4 separate regions of the Homo sapiens genome follow, and all the other regions are linked to region 2. Evidence: promoter capture Hi-C in 16 types of primary human blood cells and fetal thymus (Javierre and others, 2016). All regions are on one chromosome and are shown on one strand. The core of a region is centred on a gene start or on the middle of the fragment in contact, and the rest is flanking DNA. Distances in the headings are between cores, read along the strand shown.

Evidence for each region. The method cuts DNA at HindIII sites, captures the fragments that hold promoters and counts their contacts. A CHiCAGO score of 5 or more calls a contact.
Region 1: a fragment that was not itself captured here is called in contact with the fragment with the promoter of MCTP1-AS1 in region 2 in 2 of 17 cell types (megakaryocytes and monocytes); the score reaches 5.8 in megakaryocytes.
Region 3: a fragment that was not itself captured here is called in contact with the fragment with the promoter of MCTP1-AS1 in region 2 in 4 of 17 cell types (megakaryocytes, monocytes, M2 macrophages and 1 more); the score reaches 6.4 in megakaryocytes.
Region 4: a contact is called between a fragment that was not itself captured here and the fragment with the promoter of MCTP1-AS1 in region 2, in 5 of 17 cell types (megakaryocytes, M2 macrophages, monocytes and 2 more). The highest score is 6.1, in megakaryocytes.

The regions. Positions count from the first base shown.
Region 1 is chr5:95,156,902-95,159,601 of GRCh38, reverse strand. The region is part of intron 1 of MCTP1 (multiple C2 and transmembrane domain containing 1); the gene reads left to right. All of the region lies in intron 2 of LOC105379085 (a long non-coding RNA gene), which reads right to left. Among named protein-coding and RNA genes, the nearest start is that of MCTP1, 130 kb to the left of the region's middle. The HindIII fragment of the contact is 2,620 bases long and covers 1-2,596 here.
Region 2 is chr5:94,977,332-94,980,031 of GRCh38, reverse strand. MCTP1-AS1 (MCTP1 antisense RNA 1) reads right to left here and starts at 1,334. Exons shown (of 2, transcript NR_189169.1): 1 at 425-1,334. The region is part of intron 2 of MCTP1 (multiple C2 and transmembrane domain containing 1); the gene reads left to right. The HindIII fragment of the contact is 7,189 bases long and covers 1-2,700 here.
Region 3 is chr5:95,217,960-95,220,659 of GRCh38, reverse strand. All of the region lies in intron 1 of MCTP1 (multiple C2 and transmembrane domain containing 1), which reads left to right. The region is part of intron 4 of LOC105379085 (a long non-coding RNA gene); the gene reads right to left. Among named protein-coding and RNA genes, the nearest start is that of MCTP1, 66 kb to the left of the region's middle. The HindIII fragment of the contact is 6,099 bases long and covers 1-2,700 here.
Region 4 is chr5:95,199,510-95,202,209 of GRCh38, reverse strand. The region is part of intron 1 of MCTP1 (multiple C2 and transmembrane domain containing 1); the gene reads left to right. The region is part of intron 4 of LOC105379085 (a long non-coding RNA gene); the gene reads right to left. Among named protein-coding and RNA genes, the nearest start is that of MCTP1, 84 kb to the left of the region's middle. The HindIII fragment of the contact is 3,469 bases long and covers 1-2,700 here.

The DNA of each region.
Region 1 (2,700 bases), core at 37-2,536, 180 kb before region 2:
ATATATCTGGTACATACTCACATTTTAGAACCATTGTTGTGTCTTAGTAATCTCTTTATCCTTAGAACTTAACATAGTATATAGTACATGCATTATGGGCACTTCACAAATGATTTTTGAAAATAGAATATGACATTCTTTTGCTGGTGAGCTGTATACATAGTGATAGTATAACTGATATACTTGGCACACAGTAGTTATCAGAAAGTGTGTAATGTTTGGATGTAAGAATAAATGAATGAAAAGAGCTTAGGGAATTGAGAGAAAGCAACTATTAGCATAGCCTCTTGAATCTCTCAAATATTGCAAATTCCATATATGTTTTCTGAGTTTTGGGTAATTAGGATTTGAAGTCAATCATTGATGTCTTCAAAGGCATATCTGGAGACATGATATTGTGGTTTGGAATTTTTATACTAAGTTAGTAGACACAGTCTTATAGATAGAGTTGACAACCCTTTACAAAAATCAGGTACTTTGACTTTAATTATTTTTTAGACGTGATGTCATTTTAATTCTACATGGTTGTAGTCTGGTATGATTGCCTAAAGTCAACATCAAATAGTTTTTCAAAAAATAATTTTCTCAAAGTTATGGATACATACTCAACAGAAACTAAAAAATTCTGCACCATAAAAAAATTAAGAAATTATATTAAATAAATTTGCTTTTTATTATTTTGAGACAAGGTCTGGATCTATCACCCAGGCTGGAGTGCAGTGGTGTGATCTCAGCTCACTGCAACCTCTGCCTCCCGGCTCAAGCCTCCTGAGTAGCTGGGACCATAGGCATGCACCACCATGCCTGGCTAATTTTTTTTTTTTTTTTTGGTATTTTTTGTAGAGACAGAGTTTCACCATGCTGCCCAGGCTGGTCATGAACTTGTGAGGTCAAGTGATCCTCCTGCCTTGGCCTCCCAAAGTGCTGGGATTACAGGCATGAGCCATTGCACATGTCCCTAAATTTGCTTTTGAGTTTAACTATTTATCTAAAATTACAGATGCTATTTAAGTGAGTTAAATTCCTTTTGGAAAATGTTGGGAATAGGCTTGATATTCCTTGTTGTTATTTTTAAAATCTGGCTTCTTAACAATGGCATCCTTCTTAAAAAGTACCAGATTTACTATTTATTGCTATACATATCCTGTAATTTAAAAAGCCATCACAGCCTTTTGTATTTCCATTTTTATCATATTTTCCATCTCAGCCAGGCTCTCAAGTTAATTTGTACCCAGAGGATTGTATAATTTTTGCAAAGCTGCAATGCACAAAGGCCTATAGAAAGTGAAATCCATCAAAAAATGTTTTGTGACTAAAATCTTGAGATTTACAATAAATGAATGATATGTGATGATGAAAAATGCCAGTGGAATGTGTTTACCATTTTAAGAATGTTTACAAAAAAAGCAAGATATTGTCACAGTCCATATTGTGCAGGTCTGTGTTTGTGGAATTGACTGCCAGGCTCAATATGTAACATTTTCGTTGTGTCTACTTAATATCAATTCTATTTATTTACTTAATTAACCAAGGGCTTTCTTTAGTGAGATCATGTATGATTTGTTCTAGGTATTATAGGTATAGTAGATGTAGACTTGCACTAAACACTGATTTTTAATGAACTACAACAGGGGTTGGCAGATATTTTCTGTAAAGAACCAGTAAATATTTTAGGCTTTGCGGGCCATGCTGTTTCTGTCATGACAACTCAACATTGCCGGCGTAATGGGAAAACAGCCATAAACAATAAATGAAGGAAAGGGAGTGACTGTGTTTCAATAAAACATTATTTATAAAAACAGGCATCTGGCTGACTTGGCCCGTGAGCCACAGTTTGCTGATCCCTGCTCCATGTAATCATATATTAATTTCAAAATTGAGAAGCTCTTTTAGGCCATGATTGCATGGTGACTTTGTTTGTACATTACTTTTCCATAATGAGAAATCTTAAAATTTTTTCCCAGTATTTTTAATGGTATATTTAGTTGTTTATCCCTTGATTTGAGAAAAAGATTAAATATAAATCTCTTGCCTTCGTCTTTAGCCTTATTTATACCACTGACCATGGACAAGTTGCTAAAGTTTTCTGTTTCCTAGTTTTCTATATGGGTCTACAGGGCAGCTGAATTCATTTGATAGAATAATATAAATTAGAAAACTAGCTTTCAATATCTTATCTGTATCTAGGGTCAGTGCAAGTGAATTCATAAAATATTTGGTTTATCTTTAGGGTGCCCTGGGTTCCAGGCCCTTTATCCTGTCTCTTAGCTTTTCAGGACCTTCTATAGCAGTACCCTCTTCTATCAAAGATTGGCTATTCCATGTCCCATTCCCAAAGAAACCTTTTGCTGGACAATTGGTTGATATATTTTAAGACCTAACTACTACTTTATAATATATTTGGATTTTCATAGTCTTTCTGAAGACTATTTTAACCCAAATGAGTTAATTTTCACTAATTTACATATATATTTGATTTTACCTATTTATAATTTTCACATAACTACTTCAAAAAAGTATTAGGGCCACAGAGTAAATTATAATGACAGGAATACCGGGCACTTTATTAAGGTGATGTGAGCTTTGGGTTTAAGCTTGTAGTCCTACTCCTCAAATCACATTTCTTAGCAAGCTTGACTCTCTCTCTACTCATAAGATCAGCCATGAATGCATGAGAAAATATGAATTAATAACGTTTCA
Region 2 (2,700 bases), core at 85-2,584:
TGATATTTCACAAGTTGAATTTTTAAGGTATTTTTTAAAACTAAATGTCAGTGGAGTCCTTTCTTTAAGGGCCTTAAATCTTACATTTTCCTTATTATTAGCACCAAACAATATAATCATGATTTGTTGTGGTTTAAATTTTGTATTTGTTAAGATATATAACTAAACAGATAAACCCGATATATCAATGATTTAACCTAAGAAAAGCTGTTTTTCTTGCTCTTATTATGGTTTAATATGTGTCCGTGTTGGAGGGTGGGGCTCTAGTTCTGCTCCACACAGTCATCACGGGCCCCTAGTGTTTTTTTTCTATCTAGTGTTACTATCTCCCTTTTGGTCCTCAAAGCCTGTGGTTGACAGAGTAGAGTAAGAATCCCACATGGGAAGATTTTTATAGGCCAGGCTTAAAATTGGCACACATTACCTTTTGCATTTATATTCAGTTGACCAGAATGCAGCCAATTGACCACTCCTAATTTTAAAGGAGGCCGGAAGCTATAGCTCATATTGCCAAGCAGTAGCATTCTTGGCTATACTCTACCTCTGGTCACCAAATATGTTTCACTCTTCCTGCATATAGAAGACATTCACTCTTCTCCAAGAGAAACAGTCAAAGTCCCATCTGATCACCGTATACAGCTCTAAGTTCAGGATCTCTGAATAAAAGGATATTCTCTGTCAGGTCTGAATGTGGTTCCTTGTAGCCCTCGGAACTAAGAATCTGCCTACAGTCTCCCTATACACATCCAACATACAATGGTAGAAATCATGGGGGGCACAAGTTACTTGTCAGTATAAATTCTGAAATCCCCATGTCCATAAAGAGGCCAGATGAAGGCCTCTTAACCTGGAGAGTAGGAAAATTGTTTGATTAGAACTTTTCTGTCTGGGAAGAATCCTCTTGTTTGTTGTTCTCCGTGGCAACTGGCCCCTTAATTTGGGGATCTATTTCTTATTCATTGTCCTCTATGGCCATGTCTGAAATGGGTGTGAAGGAGCTTGCTCTCCTTGGGGATTGTACATCTTTCATATCCTGCTTCCTACTAGGGTAATGTCAGGGATCTCAAACAGCTAAGTTCTTTCTCTCAAAAACTCAGTAGGCAGTAGGCTTCTGTGTGCCAATGATCACACCCAATGATCTTGGTTTTTTAAAAAAATTTATTTTATTGTGGTAAGAACACTTAACATGAGATCTACACTCTTAACACATTTTTAGGCATATAGTACAATATTAATATAGGAGCAATGTTGTACAGCAGATCTCAAAAACGTATTCATCTTGTGTAATTGAGACTTTATGCCCATTGACTGGAAACACCCCATTCCCCACCCCTACTACCAGCCCTTGGCATCCACCATTCTACTTTCTGATTCAATGAGTTTGACTATTTTAGATATCTGATGTAAGTGAAATCATGCAGTATTTGTCCTTCTGTGGCTGGTATATAGCATAATGTCTTCAAGTTTCATCCATGTTGTCACATATTGCAGGATTTCCTTCTTTTTTCAGTCTGAATAATATTCCATTATATATATATACCACATCTTCTTTTTATGCATGCATTCATTGATGAACATTTAGGTTGCTTCTATGTCTTGGTTATTGTAAATAGTGTTGCAATGAATATGGGAGTGCTTATTTCTCTTTAAGATCCTGATTTCAGTTCTTTTAGATAAATACTAAAAAGTCAGATTGCTAAATCATATGGTAGCTCTATTTTTATTTTTTTTTAGAAATCTCCATATTGTTTTCCACAGTAACTGCACCATTTTGCATTCCCACCAACAGTGTACAAGGGTTCAGATTTCTTCACATCCTCACCAACACGTGTTGATAGTTTTCCTACCAGGTGTCAGGTGATGTCTCATTGTATTTTTGATTTTCATTCCCCTGATGTTTGGTAACAGCATCTTTTCATATACCTGTTGGCCATTTGTATGTCTTCTTTGGAGAAATGTCTATTCCAGACTTAGCCCAGTTTTAAAATCAGATTATTAGGTTTTTTTGCTATTGTGTTGTAGAAATTCCTTATATATTGGAAACTAACCCCTTATCTGATATATGATTTGCAGATATTTCCTCTAGTCCCATTTGCCTGGTTTTACTTTTGTTTCCTGTGCTTTTGGTGTCATACTCACGCAATCATTGACAAAACTAATGTCATGAAGGTTTTTCCCTGTTTTATAGTTTCATGACTTATATTTAAGTTTTTAATCCATTTGTATTGATTTATGTATATGGGGTAAGATAAGAGTCCAGTTTCATTATTCTGCATGTGAATATACAGTTTTCAAAAGCTATTCGTTGAAGACTATCCTTTCCCTATTTTGTATTCCTGGCACCCTTGTTGAAGGTCAGTTTACCATACAGGCATGGATTGATTTTCATTCTGTTCCTTGGACTATATGTCTGTCTTTTTCACAGTACCATGCTGTTTTAATTACTGTAGCTTTGTAATATATTTTGAATCAGGAAGTATGATGCCTCCAGCTTTGTTTTTCTTTCTCAAGATTTTTTTTGACTATTCGGGGTCATCTGTGGTTCCATATGAATTTTAGGGTTTTTTTTTTCTATTTCTGTAAAAAATATCATTGGAATTTGATAGAGATTTCATTGAATCTATAGATTGCTTTGGGTAGTATGTACATTTTAACAATATTCCATTTTTCAATTCATGAACACAAGATGACTTTTCATTT
Region 3 (2,700 bases), core at 24-2,523, 240 kb before region 2:
TATTAAGGAAGTTGTTGCAGTAGCTTCTGGTGGCTATGTCATAATATGAGAGGTGAGAATTACTGAGTTACATTGATGAATGAGTTTTACTTTTTGCCAGTTCCCTCTTGGCCTCAACATCAAAGTCTTAATTATTGTGAATTGGCTAAAAGCCAACAAAATTAGAGGAAGAAGGAGAAACAAAAGATTCAGGTAAAATGAATTATTAAGAATGAAAAAAATTCTGATAGTGTCTCTCTTCCTTTTAGATTATGATTCCGTCAGTGTTTGTACATGCTTGTAGAGGCCAGCGGACTAAGGAATTCTTTGTAAAAAAAAAAAAAAGGAAGAAGAAAATGAGGATCCAGGTTGATGACTTAATGTACAGATTTTATTTTGTTATTTTATTTTTAAATATTGTACTATGAAAATCAAGTTGTGCTTGGTTAAACACACACAAAAAAATCTCTCATGTACTTAATCAGTATTTTTAGTAACTCTTCAATGACATAGGCTATTAGCAGCCGCTTAAGGAACCTCAGCTCTAATTTAGCCCTTATTTTAATCTTGAGTTCTGAAAGTCAGAAATTAAATGTCATCTATTAGCAACTAATACTACCTTTGCAAGTTAGTTCAAGAACTTTGGGCTCCTAATTTACATATTGCAAGCTGTTGCTGAATTTAGTGTGAGAGCTACCATTTGCCTGTAACAGAATTAAAATTATGATCATCCAAAAGAATTTGTAGGACCTAACAGAACTTCTCATTGATTTTTGGCTTTTAAATTTATCATTTCTCTTTCTTCTTACCATGAATTCATTACCTTAGTAGCTTAGTATTTATTTCTAAATGAGCTTAATAGTGGGGAGTCAAATGAAGGGACAGTTACAGGCATCTTTCTCTATAAGAATATAAAATTGATGGCAGATTTTGGGAAATGGAGTTTTTGCATTTGCATTTAAGTTGCTCACCAGGACACTGAAGATTATGTTTACATTTGTTTGACTGACTGTTGTCTCAGGTTGCTGTGTCTCCTGGGGATGGCTCTGTGTGGTCCACCCAAAGCTGAACAGCTGCTTTAGATCTTTATTGTTGTCGTAGCAGTGGAGACCTAAAGACCGTAGGGAGTCCAGGGCGATTAGAATGCAGCTTGCCAAATTTAATTCATTTGAGTATCATCATCTGATTAGCCTCATAGATACACATGACTTTATTATTTACCTAATGTTTTTCTTTTAAGTCAACTAAATTTTGTGTTTTAAATAAATTATTTTAAAAGGATTTTTTTTTTTTTTTTTTGAGATGGAGTCTCACTCTGTCGCCCAGGCTGGAGTGCAGTGACGCGATCTTGGCTCACTGCAAGCTCCGCCTCCCAGGTTCACGCCATTCTCCTGCCTCAGCCTCCTGAGTAGCTGGGACTACAGGTGCCCACCACCATGCCCGGCTAATTTTTTGTATTTTTTAGTAGAGACGGGGTTTCACCGTATTAGCCAGGATGGTCTCGATCTCCTGACCGCATGATCCACCCGCCTTGGCCTCCTAAAGTGCTGGGATTACAGGCGTGAGCCACTGCGCCTGGCCTTTAAAAGGAAATTTTTACATTACTAGCCCAAATTAGAAAAATCATTTTTTCCCAAAATAGATGGTAACTATAAAAATGAATAGGATGAAAAACCAGATGAAGTACAGTCATGCATTGCATAATGACATTCTGGTCAGTGATGAAATGCATATACAATAGTGGTTCCAGAAGATTATAATACTATATTTTACAGAACCTTTTCTATGTTTAGATATGTTTAGATACACAAATGGTTACCATTGTGTTAAATTTGCCTATAGTATTCAGTACGGTAACTTACTGTGTAGGTTGGTAGCCTCAGAGCAACAGGCTATACCATCCAGCCTAGGCGTATAGTAGGCTATTCCATCTCAATTTGTGTAAGTACATTCCATGATGTTCATAAAACAACAAAATCACCCACAATGCATTTCTCAGAATGTATCCTTATTGTTAAGTGACAAATGACTGTATATAGTTTTAACTAAATAAAGTTACCTGGAGCTCAGTCCCTGAGAACATGTCTCCTGTTTAAACAAGAATAGAAAGATGTTAAAGGCCTACTAGTACCAAACTGAAATTTTTCTCCTTGATACTAGGAAATTAAAAGGGGAAACACTTTGTCTCTACCTGATTTAGAGTGTTTAATGTACCATTACCACCTAAAATGATGTCCCAGATTACTAGTTGAAGCATTCCATACATTGGGAAATACTAGATTAAAGAAACAAAGAGAAAGGATCAAATAGCCTCACTCACTCTCCCATTCATTCATTTCTCTTGTTATGGGCCTGAAACTGGGTATGTAGTGTTGAACAACAAAAACCAAATTCCTGCCCCCATTGACTTAACCATTGAACACGGATCTTTTCTTCCTTGTAACCTATTGTATCATGCATCTACTCTTGCTCTGTCAAATTCTTTTCATCCCAGCTCTTATCTCATTGCTGTCCCAATATAGTGTAACTCATTTGGAGGACTAGAAATTCCTTGAAGTTCTTGTTCTCCTCTGACATCAGACCAGTCCCTATGTGTAAGGCCAAGCCTTGGAATGTGCCTGGAAGGCTCTGTCTCTGGTTCACAGGCTAGATCTCCAAGCCTCTAGCAAATTTGGACAATACGTCATATCTCTCATGTCTTTCCTGAAATTCCTGCATGAT
Region 4 (2,700 bases), core at 116-2,615, 220 kb before region 2:
TCCAGCTCTAGGAGAGAGAAGAAATGGCCTCTTTTCTGCCTTTTTTGTTCTACCTGAGCCCCGAGCCAGCTGCAGGGTTCTACCCACATCAAGAGTGGTCTTCCCCACTCACGCCACTGACCCACTTACCAGTCTCCTCTAGAACCACCTTCACAGACAAACCTAGAAACAATGCTTCACCAGTTCTCCTGCTATTGTTAAATCCAGTCAAGTAGACATCTGAAATTAATTATCACAGAAATGTTTGAAATGTGAATCAAATTTCTCATCCCCATACCAGATGTTAGAACACAGAGTAGCAATACCTTTTTCAAGGAAATTAAAGAAAAATAAATAAGAAGAAACTTCCTATTTATGGTTTCTGAAGAGTGAAACTGGGATAGGTGGTGGAGAAAAAACTTTTTTGGCCAGGTGCAGTGGCTCACGCCTGTAATCCCAGCACTTTGGGAGGCCGAGGCGGATGGATCCCTTGAGGTCAGGAGTTTGAGACCAGCCTGGCCAACATGGTGAAACCCTGTCTCTCCTAAAAATACAAAAACTAGCCAGGCATGATGGCGGGCACCTATAATCCCAGCTACTCAGGACGCTAAGGCAGGAGAATTGCCTGAACCTGGGAGGCAGAGGCTGCAGTGAGCCAAGATAGCACCAATGTGCTCCAGCCTGGGCAACAAAGCGAGACTCTGTCTCAAAAAAAAAAAAAAAAAAAAAAAAAAAAAAAAAAAAAAAAAAAAAAAAAAAAAAAAAACCACTTTTCCTTTACATTTTATCCCTTTTGTACTTAAAAAATACACTCATCCCTATAATTTTTAAATTTAAATCATAACAAAAAGGTAGTATATTGTATTATCATACTGCTTTTCAAACTTTAATGTGCCTATGAATCAATGAAGGCTCTTGTTAAAATACATATTCTGATTCAGTCAGTGTTGAGTGTTATCTGAGACTGCATTTCTAACAAGCTCCTATGATATGTGGATGTTGCTTGTCCTAGAACCACACTTTGACTAGCAAAGGTGTACAAGTTCAAAGAAGAGTGCAGCATTCTGTCTCAGCAGTCCTAAAGTTTGGTGTGCAAAAGATTCACCAATGGAGTGTGTTAAAATACAATTTCCTCAGTCCCAGTGCAGGAGATTCCAATTCAGTAGGCTTGGAATAAAGTTATAGCATCCACATTTTCAATGAACTCTACTCTTAATTCTTCTACATGCTTACATTTACATTATGTTATGCTGACAAACTTTTCATAGATAAAATTTTAGAGGATGTTGTTTTGTTTATCTCTGACAATCATTTTATATGTTTATCATGTACAACATGATGTTTTGAAATATGTATAAGTTGTGGAATGGCTAAATTGAGCTAATTAACATATGCATTACCTCACATACGCATCAGTTTTTGTGGTGAGAACACTTAAAATCTATCTTAGCAATTTTCAAAACACAATACATTGTTATTAACTGTAGCCACCATGTTGTATAATAGATCCCTTAAACTTATTACTTTTATCTAACTGAAATTTTATATCCTTTGACCAACATCTCCCTAATCCATGAGTTCAACTTTTTAAGATTCCACATACAAGTGAGATCATGTGGTATTTGTCTTTCTGTGTCTGACTTATTTCACTTAATACAATATTCCCCAGCTTCATCTATGTTGTTGCAAATAACACAAGTGTCCTTCATTTTTAAAGCTGAATAGTATTCCATTGTGTATATGTGCCACATTTTCTTTATCCATTTACCTGTTGAAGGACACTTAGCTTGATTTCATGTCTTGGGTATTTTGAAAAATGTTGCAAAGAACATGAGAGTGTAGATATCTCTGTCATACACTGATTTTATTCCCTTTGAATATATACCCAGTATTGGGATTGCTGGATCATATGGCAGTTCTATTTTTAATTTTTTGAGGAATTTCCATACTGGTTTTCATAATGGCTGCACTAATTTGCATTCCTGCCAATAGTGCACAAGTGTTCCCTTTTCTTCACATCCTTGTCAATATTTATCTTTTGTCTTTTTCTCTTTTTCTTTTTTTTTTTTTGAGATAGTGTCTCACTCTGTTGCCCAGGCTGGAGTGCAGTGGCACGATCTCGGCTCACCGCAACTTCCGCCTCCCGGGTTCAAGTGATTCTCCTGCCTCAGCCTCCCAAGTAGCTGCGATTGCAGGCACGTGCCACCACCCTTGGATAATTTTTGTATTTTTAGTAGAGACGAGGTTTCACCATGTTGGCCAGGCTGATCTTGAAATCCCAACCTCAGGTGATCCGCCTGCCTCGGCCTCCCAGAGTGCTGGGGTTACAGGCATGAGCCACTGTGCCTGGCCTTTTTTTTTTTTTCTTTTGAGACGGAGTCTCTTGCTCTGTTGCCCAGACTGGAGTGCAGTGGCACCATCTCAGCTCACTGCAACCTCCACCTCCTGAGTTCATGCAATTCTCTTGCCCCAGCCTCCTGAGTAGCTGGGATTACAGGCGTGCACCACCACACCCGGCTAATTTTTAGTATTTTTAATAGAGACGGGATTTCACCATGTTGGCCAGGCTGGTCTTGACCCCCTGACCTCAAGTGATCCACCCGCCTCAAACCCCCAAAATGCTGGGATCACAGATGTGAGCCACCACACCCAGCAATCTTTTGTCTTTTTCATAATAGCCATTCTAACAGGTATGCAGTGAAATCTCATTGTGGTATTAAT